Linked DNA regions of Homo sapiens: region 2 is linked to region 1. Evidence: promoter capture Hi-C in 16 types of primary human blood cells and fetal thymus (Javierre and others, 2016). All regions are on one chromosome and are shown on one strand. The core of a region is centred on a gene start or on the middle of the fragment in contact, and the rest is flanking DNA. Distances in the headings are between cores, read along the strand shown.

Evidence for each region. The method cuts DNA at HindIII sites, captures the fragments that hold promoters and counts their contacts. A CHiCAGO score of 5 or more calls a contact.
Region 2: a fragment that was not itself captured here is called in contact with the fragment with the promoter of LY6D in region 1 in 1 of 17 cell types (total CD8 T cells); the score reaches 5.7 in total CD8 T cells.

What each region holds. Positions count from the first base shown.
Region 1 is chr8:142,783,568-142,787,795 of GRCh38, reverse strand. LY6D (lymphocyte antigen 6 family member D) reads left to right here and starts at 1,257. Exons shown (of 3, transcript NM_003695.3): 1 at 1,257-1,331; 2 at 2,109-2,207; 3 at 2,340-2,914. The coding sequence starts at 1,280. The coding sequence ends at 2,575. The HindIII fragment of the contact is 15,715 bases long and covers 1-4,228 here.
Region 2 is chr8:142,863,055-142,867,741 of GRCh38, reverse strand. No RefSeq gene overlaps it. Among named protein-coding and RNA genes, the nearest start is that of CYP11B1, 14 kb to the left of the region's middle. The HindIII fragment of the contact is 2,373 bases long and covers 832-3,204 here.

The DNA of each region.
Region 1 (4,228 bases), core at 8-2,507:
CTAGCCAGGGCAGGGGCAAAGCAAGTCTGTGGGCCCCTCCACACCACTCAGGTGGGTGCTGCCCAGCACAGGCGAGCGGCAGAGCGTGCTGGGCTGAGCAGGTGGATGGGGGCCCCAAGAGGTGGGCTCCTGCGCGAGGCGGTGGGTGCTCAGAGACCCCGTCTCCAGGGAAAGAAAGTCCCTCCTGTGAGTATAAAGAGGGTGAAGGCGGGGACTGGCCTCCACTCAACGGGCAGCAGACCAAGAACCTGCTTTGAGGCCCTGGGTGCTGGGGCCCAGCCCCAAAGAGTTCACGATTTTGGGGAGACTGGAGCCGGGACACCTAGAGCAATAGTTACAAAGTGGCCGGGATGGCGCTGCCCCCAACGTAGCAGGAGGGGCCTGGAGAGTGGGGGAAGGAATCCCACGGGGAGGGCTTCTGGGGCCCTGGAGGGCGGGAGGCAGGGCTGGTGGAGACCAGGAGGGCTCAGTCTCTCCCTGCACAACGCAGGGTGGAGTTGCTGCCTCCACAGCCCGGGCCTTCTGCCCACAGGGCTCCCCAGGCAACTTCGAGGGCCGGGTCCTCACAGTCCTCACTCTGTCCAGTGCTCACCTCACTGCTGCCCCAGCTGCCCTCCCTGCCTCGGAGTGGCCTCTGCCTCTGCCTCTGCCTCACACACCCCATCAGCCCACAGCCACCCCGAGCCCTTGCAGCTCAAGGACCTTCTGCATCCCCGGCAGCAACCCTGAGCCCAGAGCCAGGAGAGTAGGACCAGCACCTGCCCTTCCTACCTCCCCTGCCCTGGACACCCACGGGCACCCACAGGGCACCGGGCACAGGCTGCAACTCTATTGAGGGAACTATGGGGGGAATGCAGGGACAAAGACACAGGATGGTGATGGATGGTGGGGGGTGGGGGGCGGGGGGTAGCGGGTGGCAGGTCAGAGACAAAGTGACCCAGGAACGGACGGCAGCGAGAGAACAAGACCCACAGAGACAGAGAAGTGAAAGTGGGAGAGATGGAGGCACAGCAGCAGGAACAGCAGGGCCAGGAGGCCACTGGGCCCCGTTGCGGAGGGCAGACCTCTGCCTGGCGGGGGGCAGCAGGGGCAGCGCCCAGCGACAGCCAGGCTGGTGGGCGTGGGCCAGGCAGGGTGGGGCAGGTGCCCGTCCTGGGCTGACGCTTGCACAGAGCCCTGCAGAATGCCGCTGGCTGGCGGACTGCCCACCCCCGCCCAGCCCGTGCCTATAAGGCCTTGGCAATGCAGGGGCCCGCACTGCTCCCAGACGACATCAGAGATGAGGACAGCATTGCTGCTCCTTGCAGCCCTGGCTGTGGCTACAGGGCCAGGTGAGGGGCTGGGCCAAGGGGACGGGCGGGTGGGCGGCTGTGGCCTGTGTGGTCACCAAATACTAGGAGCCTGGAGCTGACGACATCTAGGCACAGAGAACCCCGACACTGTGGGTGCTAGACTCTTCAAATTTAAAACAACATGGAGCCCGAATCTTAACGAGTGTCAGATTTACAATGTTTCAGAATCTGAGGATCTTAGAACTGACTCCTGGAGTCACGGACCCTGAGAGAGTGGAGCAGGGGGTTGTCTTGAGATGCTTCTCACTGGGAGAGCGGCCATCTAGTCCCTGCCACCAGCCCCTCCCGGTCCCCAGGTCTCCCCCAGCACAGCCCAGGACAGCCCAAAGGCCACCAAGCCCTTCCTGTCATAGGCTCAGAGCAGCCAAGCTGGCTGCCCCCGGGGCCTTAGCTCCGTCAGGCCCTCAGAAACATAGCCATCTCCTCCAGGGACATCCCCTGGGGTGGGGACAAGAGCCAGTGTCCTCTTGGCAGTCGCAGAGCTCCCTGAGACCTTGGAGGAAAGGCTTGCAACACACCCTAGACAGGGGCAGGGCAGGACACCTCTTCCAAGCCGGCCCAGGCTGGAATACATGTCCCCTGAGGCTGCACTCAGGGCACATGCCCTGCCAGGACCCAGAGCCCGGGTTTGGGGGCCTAGGGCAAGGGCAGCAGGGCCTCTGTCCAGGAGGGGTCTCTGCAGGTGGGGGAGCAGGCCCTGCTGAGTCACCAGGAGGCCTCTGTTGGGCCCGCTGAGCCGGACTCCCTCCCCGCCAGCCCTTACCCTGCGCTGCCACGTGTGCACCAGCTCCAGCAACTGCAAGCATTCTGTGGTCTGCCCGGCCAGCTCTCGCTTCTGCAAGACCACGAACACAGGTGGGTAGCATCTGTCCAGGTGTCCCTGGGGCTGGGGGACATCCCTGGCTGTTGTGGGTGTTGGCTGGAAGGTTGTGGGGAGGTGGGGGGCAGAGGTGGCTGCCTGGCCTGACCACACTCACCTGTGCCCAGTGGAGCCTCTGAGGGGGAATCTGGTGAAGAAGGACTGTGCGGAGTCGTGCACACCCAGCTACACCCTGCAAGGCCAGGTCAGCAGCGGCACCAGCTCCACCCAGTGCTGCCAGGAGGACCTGTGCAATGAGAAGCTGCACAACGCTGCACCCACCCGCACCGCCCTCGCCCACAGTGCCCTCAGCCTGGGGCTGGCCCTGAGCCTCCTGGCCGTCATCTTAGCCCCCAGCCTGTGACCTTCCCCCCAGGGAAGGCCCCTCATGCCTTTCCTTCCCTTTCTCTGGGGATTCCACACCTCTCTTCCCCAGCCGCAACGGGGGTGCCAGGAGCCCCAGGCTGAGGGCTTCCCCGAAAGTCTGGGACCAGGTCCAGGTGGGCATGGAATGCTGATGACTTGGAGCAGGCCCCACAGACCCCACAGAGGATGAAGCCACCCCACAGAGGATGCAGCCCCCAGCTGCATGGAAGGTGGAGGACAGAAGCCCTGTGGATCCCCGGATTTCACACTCCTTCTGTTTTGTTGCCGTTTATTTTTGTACTCAAATCTCTACATGGAGATAAATGATTTAAACCAGTGTGGCTGTGGCTGTGCTATTCTGGGACGGAGGAGCTGAGGGGCGGATATCAGGCCACATAGGTACCCTGAGCCTCCAGCACATGTCCCCTGGGGCCAGTCGTGGGGTGATGCCTGAGGTGGCACCGTCCGTCCCCACCCTGGAAGGGGCAGGCTGCTCAGATGCCTCCCACCGCCCCAGAGGTGGAGGGCACTCCTGGGGTGAGGCCTGAGTAGGAGCACAGGGTAAGAGGGCTCGCAGGCCCCTCCCACACATAGCACCTAGGGGAGAAGGAACCCCTCAGCCTTTCACCCCGGGTCATGTCTCTGAGACCGGGGTTCAGGAGCCTCCAGAGAGGCCGGCTTGGGACACCCCAGGCCCAACCCCAGCTTTGGAGCCAAGTAGGCACTGACTACCTACAGCCATCGCCAAGGCAAGTCCAGCTGCCCAGGGAAAGTTCAGCCACCATCCAGGAAAGTCCCATGGACCCTATCTATGGGAACCCAGCAGCCCCTTGGCCAGACCTCACCAGGGTGAAGCTAGACTGGGCGGGGAGTATGACGCAGGGAATATGGGCCAGATGAGGTCGCCCAGAGGCAGGGAGGGTTCCGCACCCACTGCGTGGGTTCTGGTATTTCGGGGATGAGGTTGGGACGTGCAGTGAGATGAGGCCCCCGGCAGATGCCCCAGCAAGGGGCCCTTCCACTTCTGGAGAGGGCCAGAGGCTCCTGCAGGCTGACCACATGTCCCCGGCATGGGAAGTCTCAGGCCTCACCAGGGTCAGAGCAGAGCTCTGCCTTCCCCCAGGCCAGCTCCCTCGCAGGCCTGGCCTGGAAATTCCGTGGTGGCAGAGCCCCCTCCGGCCGCGGCCAGCAGACGGTGGCGTAGCGTGGGTGGCAGCTGGTGAGGGGTCAGTGGTGCTCCCTGGCCCTGGGTCCAGGCATTCAGCTCTTTGTCCCACACACCATGAGACCAGCACCATCACCACCCCCAGTTCCAGCTGAGGGGCTGGGGGCGAGTGGGGTGCTGGATGGTTACTGGAGGTGAAGCGTGATTTGGGAAGGCCTGCTCTTACCACCTGTCCATCCTGCCTCCCCTGGGACCCAGGGCCACTGTGCAACCCCCTCCTGGAGGGCTGCCTGCCCAGCCAAGGCACCGCGACCCAGGACTGGGTCTGGGTGAGCTTCACTGTCTCCACCTTGGGATCACCCTTCTCCACACCCAAGGCCCATCTCCCCAGGGCGGCCAAGGTGGGTCACTCCTTGCCCTGACTGAGAGACCTTAGGCAAAGCACTCCACCTCCGGGAGCCTCCATTTTCCTCCACTGGGCACCCA
Region 2 (4,687 bases), core at 769-3,268, 79 kb before region 1:
GGGGATTACAACTGAACATGAGATTTGGATGGGAACACAGCCAAACCATATCGCTCTGTGTTGTGAAGGTATTTTGTAGATGTAGTTAACATCAACAGTAAATTGACTTTAAGTAAAGAAGATTAAGATCACTCTCAAAAATGTGGTGGATCTTATCCAATCAGTTGAAAGGGCTTAAAAGCCAAATTAATGTTTTCTAGAGAAGAAGAAATTCTACCTCAAGACTGCGGCATCAATTCCTGCCCAAGAGGTTCCAACCTACTGACCTGGCCTACAGATTTTGAACTTACCAGCCCCCCAAATCATGTGAAAACACACACACACACACACACACACACACACACACAGAGTATATATTTAGAGACAGAGAGAGAGATCCATTGGAACTACTGATTCTGTTTCTCTAGAGGACCTGCACTAATACATTTGGTGATATGGTTTGGCTGTGTCCCCACCCAAATCTCATCTCAAATTGCAATCCAAATATGTCAAGGGAGGGACCAGGTGGGAGGTGATTAGATCATGAAAGCAGTTTCTCCCATGCTGTTCTCATGACAGTGAGCGAGTTCTCACAAGATGTGGTTGTTTGACAGTATCTGGCACTTCCCCCCTTGCTTCTCTCTCTCTCCTGCCACTTTGTGAAGAAGGTCCTTGCTTCCCCTTCACCTTCCACCATGATTGTAAGTTTCCTGAGACTTCCCCAGCCATGCACAACTGTGAGTCAATTAAACCTCTTTATAAATTACCCAGTCTCAAGCAGTTTTTTATAGCAGTGTGAAAACAAATTAATACACCTGGATACAGGAAAAGGTTTTTTAATAAATAAAAGCTTTTCAATAAATAAATCTGACAACACAAAAAAATCTTTTGCATTGCAAAAATGTAAACAAATCAAAAGACAACTGATGAACTAGTAGAAAATATTTGCAAAATACATCACAAATAAAGTGCTAATGTCCTCAAAATATAAAGTGCTTAAAGATGACTGACTGGGATCAGCTACTGGGCACCTCTCTCCCAGAGAGGAATCAAAATCATGAGTAAACACTAACACTTCAAGTAGATCATCTAAGAGAGCATGCTGAAATTCAACAGAGAAATGACAGGAATCACAGACAGCCTAGGAGAGCTAAGATGGCACCCTCCGAGCTGGTACAGGCAGAGTTGGGAGAGGCTCCCTAATGTGGGCAAGTGGTGGGCAAGTGAGAGACCCCAGGTGTCCACACCTCTGCCATGGGCCTTTAAAATCCTAGACATGAGAAAGACCACTCAAGTACCCCAGACCTCCAGGGAGCTGCCTGGAGACAGCACAGAGGCACCCCTCAAACCTGTGTGGAATCCTACAGGCTTTTGATCCCTGAACAGCCTAATACCAGCTGCTGCTACCATGCCAAAGAGGGAGGCTGAGCACTTTTGCATTCCCCAAAGACAGATGCTGCACCCATGGTATGGAGGAGCAGGCAGACTACGCACTGCATGGCTTCCTACTTCTGCTGCTCCCCACCAAATGGGGTGTGCCTGCATTGGCAACAGGGCCCCAGCAAAGCCACCCCATAGCTCAGCGTTTCCCTGAAATCTCAACCCCCAGAAACCACTGATAAGCCCTGTGGGTCATGCAGTAGTCACTGCCACTGCTGCCTCCACCCCTGCCACCCATGGTCCAGGGAGGGAGCAGGGAGGCCAGGCACCTGCACATGCCCCAGCAGCAAAATCCAGCGCTGCTTCTGTGGGAGGGAAGTGCGATGGGCCACGCGCTCTGAAGCTGCCAGTCTCCAGTGTCGCAGCTCGGGGGGTCTGCCTTCCCTAGTGAAAGGGCCACAGCACAAGCATCAGCTCTCACTTGACCTTTTCAGCTGCAGCTTGGAGCCTTTCTGACAGCCCAGCCCCCAAAGGCCTATAATCTGCCCTCAGGCTCTCACTGCCTGAGCATTCTGCCTGCTGGCACCTGAGAGTTTGGCTGGTGGCCAGGGACCAGTCTACCCCTCCCTGTCACATCTAGCACCTGAACTCTGGGCCGGCCGGATCCTGGTCCAGTCCCTACAGCACTCATATATACCATTCACTGGCCATCTAGGGACCTAGGAATTAGAGAATTATCTAGCCTATTGTGGCACTGCTGATACCTGACCACTCCCCCAGGGCCTGAGGTGGGCTGACCCAACCAGCTGACGTCACTGCAACTGAAACCTGCCCACACAGGCTGAAAGGCAGAGACCCTCCCCACCCGCCAGCAGTTACCACCCTGGGGAACAGGGGAGCCACAAAGCTGTCTGTATCGGACTGAGTGGAGGTTATATCCAAAACCACTCCCACAGAGAGCCATAGGACTGGCATTTCCGTGGCTCTCCGCTACACTGTGGCCTAGAGATAGACCACAGTGTGCATCTGAAATGAAAGTCACTAGCCCTGGCACAGGGGTGTGATAGGGAAACAGATTGTGCTCCTGCCTATCTAGGACATAGAGCTAGTGCAATTCCCCAGGTGCCTGTGCTTGCCATTGGGGTATTTATGGGCAAGCCAGGGGATCCAGCTCTGCCTAGCTGTGTCCCCCATCCACTGAACAGATAGCTCAGGGTGCCAGGCACTCCACTGTCCAGCCCATCACCTGAAACAACAGAGAGTTCCTCACAGTAGCCAAAGGTCTAGTTCATACCCATCCACTTGTGCTGCAGCCAATTCTTACCCATAACTACCACCTACTGGCCTGCAGGTCAAACTGCACAACTCACTATAAAACCTGCTGACCGAGGTGCAGAGGGCTATAGAAGGGAAGCCAAAAGACCCTGCCCAAGTACTCCACAGTCACACCCCCAAGGGTTGGGGGGAATAATAGAGAAAAAAAAAACAATCAGAATGAAAATAAATTCAAAAATAAGAAGTGTCAGCTTCTACAAATGAGAAAGAATCAGCATAAGAACTCTGGCACCACGAAAAATCAGAATGTTGTGACCAAAGGATCACACTAGCTCTTTATCAATGGACCCCAACCAAAATGAGAACTCATAAATGACAGGTAAAGAATTCAAAGTATGGGCTGTAAGGATGCTCAACGAGATCCAAGAGAAGGTTGAAAACCAACACAAAAGAACCATGAAAGCCTTCCAGGAAATAAAGACAAAGGTAAATATCTTAGAAACAAAAACCCAACAGAACTTGTGGAGAAGGAAAGTTCATTTAAGGAATTTCAAAGTACAGTTGGAAGCTTTAACAATAGACTACACCAAGCAGAAGAAAGAATATCCAAGCTTGAAGACTGGTCTTTTGAATTAACCCAGTCAGACAAAAATAAAGAAAAAAGAATTATAAAAAATGAACAAAGCCCCTGAGAAATATGAGATCATGTAAAGTGACCAAACCTACAGTTTATAGGCATTCCTGAAAGAGAAGAAAAAGTAAGCAACCTGGAAAACATATTTGAGGGAATAATTCAGGAAAATTTCCCTAATCTTGCTAAAGAGGTAGACATCCAGATATAAAAAATTCAGAGAACACCTGTGAGATATTATACAAGACAAACATCACCAAGGCATATAGTCATCAGACTATCCAATGTCAATGCCAGAAAAAAAATCGTAAGGGCAGCTAGAAAGGTGGGTCAAATCACCTGTAAAGGAAAATCCATCAGAGTAACAGCAGAATTCTCAGCAGAGACCCTACAAGCCAGAAGAGATTGGGGGCCTGTTTTTAGCTGCCTTAATGAAAAAAAAAAGCCAGCCAAGAATTGTATAATCCTGGCTAGCTAAGCTTCATAAATGAAGGAGAAATGAGGTCTTTTCCAGACAAGCAAATGCTAAGGTAATTTGTCACCACTAGACTACAATAAATACTCAAAGGAGTTCTAAACATGGAGACAGAAGGACAATACTTGCCATCATAGAAGGACACATGAGTGCAAAGTTTACAGATCCTATAGAGCAATTACACAATTTAAACTCCAACACAACTACCTAACAACACTATGATAGGAACAAAACCTCACATACCAATATTAACCTTGAATGTAAATGGCCTAAGTGCTCCACTTAAAAGATAAAGAGTGGCAAATTGGATGAAAAAAATAAGACCCAATCATTTGCTGCCTACAAGAGACCCACCTACTGGCTAAAGACACCTTCACACTCAAAGTTAAAAGGTAGAGAAAGATATGTCATGCAAATGAAAAGCAAAAGCAAGTGGGAATAGCCATTCTCATATCAGATAAAACAAACTTTAAACCAAAAACAGTTAAAAAAAAAAGTCAAAGAAGGGTATTATGTAAGACAAAGGGTTGAATACAACAAGAAGATTTAACTCTTCTAAATATATATGTACCCAACACCAGATCACCCAGATTCATGCAAGAAATACTAGTAGACCTAAGAAAACAGGTTGATAGCAATGCAATAATAGTGGGGACTTCAACACCTCATTGACACCACTGGACAGATCATTGAGGCAGAAAATCAAGAAACACTGGACTTGAATTGGACTATAGACTAAATGAACCTAATAGATATTAGCAGAACATTCTACCCAATAACCACAGAATATACATTCTCGTCTATGCATGGAATATTCTCCAAAATCGACCACATGCTTGGCCATGAAGCAAGTCTCAACATTAAAAAAATCGTATCAAGTATCCTCAGAACACAGTGGAATAAAATTAGAAATCAATATCCAGAGGAACTCTCAAAACTACATAAGT